2 separate regions of the Homo sapiens genome follow, and region 2 is linked to region 1. Evidence: promoter capture Hi-C in human tissues and cell types (Jung and others, 2019). All regions are on one chromosome and are shown on one strand. Each heading gives the region's core, a stretch centred on a gene start or on the middle of the fragment in contact. The rest is flanking DNA. Distances are from core to core; before and after follow the strand shown. Region 1 holds the start of TAGLN3 (transgelin 3). Region 2 overlaps BTLA (B and T lymphocyte associated).

Region 1 (2,700 bases), core at 1-2,500:
GTTTGAATCACAGAGCCTGCGGCCCTCAAACCCTCAAACACACACGAGCATTTGGTCAGAAATGCAGTTAACAAATAAGGACTCCTTTCAGTTTCATGAGAACGCATCCACTCAATAAACAGACACTGAACACTTCCAGGGTGCATGGCTCCCACAAGAATGTGAAGGTGGCTAGTCCCCCTCCTCCCTTCTTTGTTTTACTGTGTAACCAACACGATCCCCTAGGGAAAGAAATGGCCCCAGAAGAGCTGATGCACCAGGAAGGCTGGGGAAATTACAAGGACATACTTATCTCTATTCTCATTAGAAAAATCAAAAGGGCTTCGAATTTGCCAACTCAGAAGGGAGATGTAATGCTAGGGTGAGTGGAGAACCCCCAAGCTAGCTAGGGAATAGTGCATGGAGCCCAAATCTTCCAACCCTGAAGAAATAAAGGCATTCTCATCCCCTCCCGGTGAGACATAGAGCTTGGCAACAGCAGCTCTTCCCGCAGCCTTACGTTAAAAGAAAGGGCCCTGGAGGGTTTCCCTGCCCACCGCCCCAGCAACCGAGATCGCTGCCGGCCTTACCGTCCCGTCCATTAACCATTTCTGAAAATGGGCCCTGCCGGGGGGCGGGTGCTCTATGTCCTCGGCGCACTGCAGGATGATCCAGTCCACCAGCTTGTTCTCCAGGTCCGCATCATACTTCTGCTCGATCTTCTCCTGCACCTCTCGGCTTAAGCCATAGCTCGGGCCCCTGTTAGCCATCTCTGGAAAGAAGAGAAGACACGCGCGGCATCCACACAATAGCAGCAGCAGCAGCCTCCGGCTCCCTGCAGACGGGGCTGGGATATGGCTGGGCAACCTGGCCCAGCAGCAGCAAAGAGGGCAGAAAGCCGGGCGTGGTTTAAATCAAGGAGCCAATGAAGCCAATGGGGTTTCACCTACAAACGGGAAAGAAAAGCACAGCTACCCGCCAGTAACTCTAGAATAAACCTCCGGCCGGTCCAGGGGGGCTGGAATCCCCCTCCCTATCCCGCCTATCAATGAGACCAGATGATATAACACGGACTCACAATCAAGTCTGAACCCCCAGGCAGCAAGGGGGATGGGTGGCGGACGTTTCTTCCCCCTTCTCAGTAGCACTTTGCAAAGGCAGAAACGATGAGATCGGGAAGAGCAGGTAATTAGCAGGCAGGGAGGAAGCCTCCTTTCATGTTGAACTGCAGCCGCTGCTGCCTCGCGCCTGGAAGAATGGCACATTGATTTGATTTTCTCATGGCTGAGGGGGCTCAACCAGGGCCGTTGCTAAGAGCCCTCCAAAAAGCCAGCCCTCTCCTGTGTCAATCAAGCCCGCCTGCCTCCCTCCCGCTGAGAGCCTCTTTCTCATCTGCACAATTCTTTCCCTCTTCTGGGGAGACAGCCGATTGTCTACGAGGCCAGCAGCTGCACAAGGGGATGAGGGCCTGTGGGAGGGTCCGTTCTACCAACTGTCCATCTGTCGGGAATAGCCAAGCTACTTTCCCCCTGCCCTGAGGTAACAACTGTCTGGCAGGACAGGAGGGGAGGGACTGAGAGCTGCTATCATTTACTTGTTCAGCTGCCAGCCCAACTTCACCCAGAAACTTCCATCCTGAAACTGTTGTGCCTCAGTTTGACTTATTCAAGGGAGGTATTTTTTTCATGCTACTCTTAACTGAAAGACACTAAGAACAAGTTTTATAAATTATTATTATAATTCTTACTATATATTTTTAGACAGAGTCTCGCTCTGTTGCCCAGGCTGGAGTGCAGTGGCACAATCTCGGCTGGCTGCAACCTCTGCCTCCTGGGTTCAAGCGATTCTCCTGCCTCAGCCTCCCAGGTAGCTAGGATTACAGGTGTGTGCCACCAGGCCTGGCTAATTTTTGTATTTTTAGTGGAGATGGGGTTTTGCCACGTTGGTCAGGCTGGTCTTGAACTCCTGACCTCAGGTGATCTGACTGCCTCGGCCTCCCAAAGTTCTGGGATTACAGGCATGAGCCACCACGCCCGGCAAGTTTTATAAATTAAACAAAACTCAACGACTAAGAACTCTTAGAGTGAAAGGTTTTGATAGAATGTAAAGACTTCATCTGAAGTAAGGACCGTGAAGGCACAACCGACATATTGTCAGAAGTAACTGAATATTTCTCATGGGCAAACAAGCACTCAGGAGAAACCATTAGCTCTAAGTTGGCCCCACATTTTTATAACAGCTAAAGGGCTTGGCAGTTTGTCCTCCTAGACTGTAAGCCATTTGTGGGTAAAGATTGAGTCTCATTGGTGTTGTGTAATTCTCTGGGTGTTTTTCATGAGAAAAATTCCACATTTTTTTTCGTTTGGTTCATTTCTTCATTCAACAGATATTTACTGAGTGTTTATGCCAACTACTGGACTGAGGAGGAATAAAATACAATTCTTGCATTGAAAACAGATTGATAAATTGACTCAAGCATATTAAATAAAGCAATTCTGGGTACATGGGATGATGATCTTTGTCCCTGTGGGAAATTGATTAGAAGCTATGCAGGAAATGACTCCTCAAATAATACATGTATTGAGAAAAATCTCCTACCGGCTGATGCCTGGACTAATGAAAATTTAATTACTTAGGAGATATGTGGGTGGTTTGCCTGAAAAAGACTTAGCGGTCAGTCGTTGAAGGCCTGGCAGACAGTCCTCTGAAAACAGAAAACTA
Region 2 (2,739 bases), core at 77-2,576, 490 kb before region 1:
CCTATTGACCCATCCTCTAAGTTCCCTCTCCTCTCCCCCTACTCCCCAACAGGCTCTGGTTTGTGTTATTCCCCTCTCTGTGTCCATATATTCTCATTTTCAACTTCCACTTATGAGTGAGAACATGCAGTGTTTGGTTTTCTGTTCCTGTGTTAGTTTGCTTAGGATGATGGCTTCCAGCTTCATCCATGTCCCTGCAAAGGGCATGATCTCATTCTTTTTTATGGCTGCATAGTATTCCACGGTGTATATGTACCATATTTTCTTTTTCCAGTCTATCATTGATGGGCATTTGGGTTGGTTCCGTGTCTTTGCTATTGTAAATAGTGCTGCAATAAACATACGTGTGCATGTGTCTTTATAGTAGAATGATTTATATTCCTTTGAGTATATACCCAGTAACGGGATTGCTGGGTCAAATGGTATTTCTGGTTCTAGATCGAGGAATTGCCATACTGTCTTCCACAATGGTTGAACTAATTTACACTCCCACCAACCGTGTAAAAGCATTCCTAATTCTCCACAGACTTGCCAGCACCTATTGTTTCCTGACTTTTTAATAATCACCATTCTGACTGGCGTGAGATGTTATCTCCTTGTGGTTTTGATTTACATTTCTCTGACCATCAGTGATGTTGAGCTTTTATTCTTATGTTTGTTGGTGGCATAAATGTCTTCTTTTTTTTTTTGAGATAGAGTGTCGCTCTGTCGCCCAGGCTGGAGTGCAGTGGCGCAATCTCCGCTCACTGCAAGCTCTGCCTCCCGGGCTCATGCCATTCTCCTAACTCAGCCTCCCGAGTAGCTGGGACTACAGGCGGCTGCCACCACGCCTGGCTAATTTTTTGTATTTTTAGTACAGAAGGTTTCACCGTGTTAGTCAGGATGGTCTTGATCTCCTGACCTCATGATCCACCTGTCTCGGCCTCCCAAAGTGCTGGGATTACAGGCGTGAGCCACCGCGCCCAGCCAGTGTCTTCTTTTGAGAAGTGTCTGTTTAGGCTGGGTGTAGTGGCTCTCGCCTGTAATCCCAGCACTTCAGGAAGCTGAGGAGGGCGGGTCATTTGAGGTCAGGAGTTCAAGAGCAGTCTGGCCAGCATAGTGAAACCCTGTCTGTACTAAAAATACAAAAATTAGCTGGGCGTGGTGGGACACGCCTGTAAGACCAGCTACTTGGGAGGCTGAGGCAGAATTGCTTGAACCCAGGAGACTGAAGTTGCAGTGAGCCAGGTTGCACCACTGCACTCCAGCTGGGTAACAGAGTGAGACTCTGTCTCCAAAAAAAAACAGAGAGAACTGTGTGTTCATATCCTTTGCCCACTTTTTGATGCGGTTGTTTGTTTTTTTCTTGTAAACTTATTTAAGTTTCTTGTAAATTCTGGATATTAGGCCTTTTTCAGATGGGTAGATTGCAAAAATTTTCTCCCATTCTGTAGGTTGCCTTTTTGCTCTGATGAGAGTTTCTTTTGCTGTGCAGAAGTTCTTCAGTTTGTTGCAATTGCTTTTGGCATTTATGTCATGAAGACTTTGTGAGAAAAATGCCAAAAGCATTATCTACTCTTATCCTTGGTCACCAAGAAAAGCTAATAGTGCTTGAGAATCATGCGCTTGAGTTGTATTGTGTCAGTGAATTGTATCATATGCGATTTGCTTCACTTTTCTAATACTCTCCATTCTCTTACCTCAAAATAAGCTCAATATTTTGTACCTTTCTGGTATACTCTCATGGTTATGGACCTGATTTACATGTTTATCTCAATGGAAGAAGTGGCTTGTGTGCAGCATGTGTCTGTGTGTATGCATGCAGAGGTGTCATACAATTTGAGATTCACTTAGAACAGAGTCCAGAAGAGTGTTAGATCAGTCCCAGGAAAACATCAAGTTTAGCTGGCAGAGCTCTTTAATTTCTTTTTTCTGCCTTCTTGATAACCATGTTCATCTTATAAGCACAACCTGGAACTCACACACATCACAAATGGCCTATTATCCAGTATTTGGCTACAAGGGAGGCTGGGGCATTGAGATTTTTATCTGGGGGGTTATGGCCCCACTTCATTTTCCTCTATAATATTAGAAGATGAGAATTAATATTGGAAGACATTTAGCAGATTCTGTCCACATAAGTATTGTTTAGTATCTTCAAGGGCTTTGAAAATGCCAGTGAATCTCAGTGTGATGTCTGTGGTAGAATGTATTAGAGATGTGAGGAAGTATCTGGGAAGAAAGTAGAGATGGACTTTCCCTTTCCAATCATAATACATAAGCCACACTTAATCTGAACATCACAAGTAACAATCCTTCCACTGAAGTCAATATTTAGAAATACTCATGTTGGTTTCTGATCAAATGCCAGAGGCACTCACTGATGCTACTGTCAACAGCTTCTCAGGTATGCTGTCTACATTTGCTGCCCTATGTTTCTTCCTGAAATCCCTGTGACAAAGGTGGAAAATTTAGCCTCTCTGAAGGACAGGGCCTATGTGTAACAGGCAATCAAAGTCTCTCTAAATCATTGTTCTTTAGGACTCATTAAGTTGACTAGAAGCTTTTACTATTCAAGGGCGATAATTACATGTTGACCAACTAAAACCACCAGAAACTCATCCTTGTTACACAGAGTAGACAGGGCTCTAAGGAGTGCAATGCATATGAATCCTCTGGCCTAGAGAAGCAAAGTCAGTGACCAGTAGGGTAGATCTGCAAGGGGACATTTGTGACTTGGCAGAGATGTAATGAAGAAGT

Evidence for each region. The method cuts DNA at HindIII sites, captures the fragments that hold promoters and counts their contacts. A contact is called where the count stands out against the background at its distance.
Region 2: a contact is called between a fragment that was not itself captured here and the fragment with the promoter of TAGLN3 in region 1, in 1 of the 25 tissues and cell types used here (aorta).

What each region holds. Positions count from the first base shown.
Region 1 is chr3:111,997,472-112,000,171 of GRCh38, reverse strand. TAGLN3 (transgelin 3) reads right to left here and starts at 1,250. Exons shown (of 5, transcript NM_001008272.2): 1 at 1,058-1,250; 2 at 570-751. The coding sequence starts at 749. The HindIII fragment of the contact is 6,637 bases long and covers 1-2,700 here.
Region 2 is chr3:112,492,060-112,494,798 of GRCh38, reverse strand. All of the region lies in intron 1 of BTLA (B and T lymphocyte associated), which reads left to right. Among named protein-coding and RNA genes, the nearest start is that of BTLA, 6.0 kb to the left of the region's middle. RefSeq lists a silencer at 2,626-2,675. The HindIII fragment of the contact is 3,782 bases long and covers 1-2,739 here.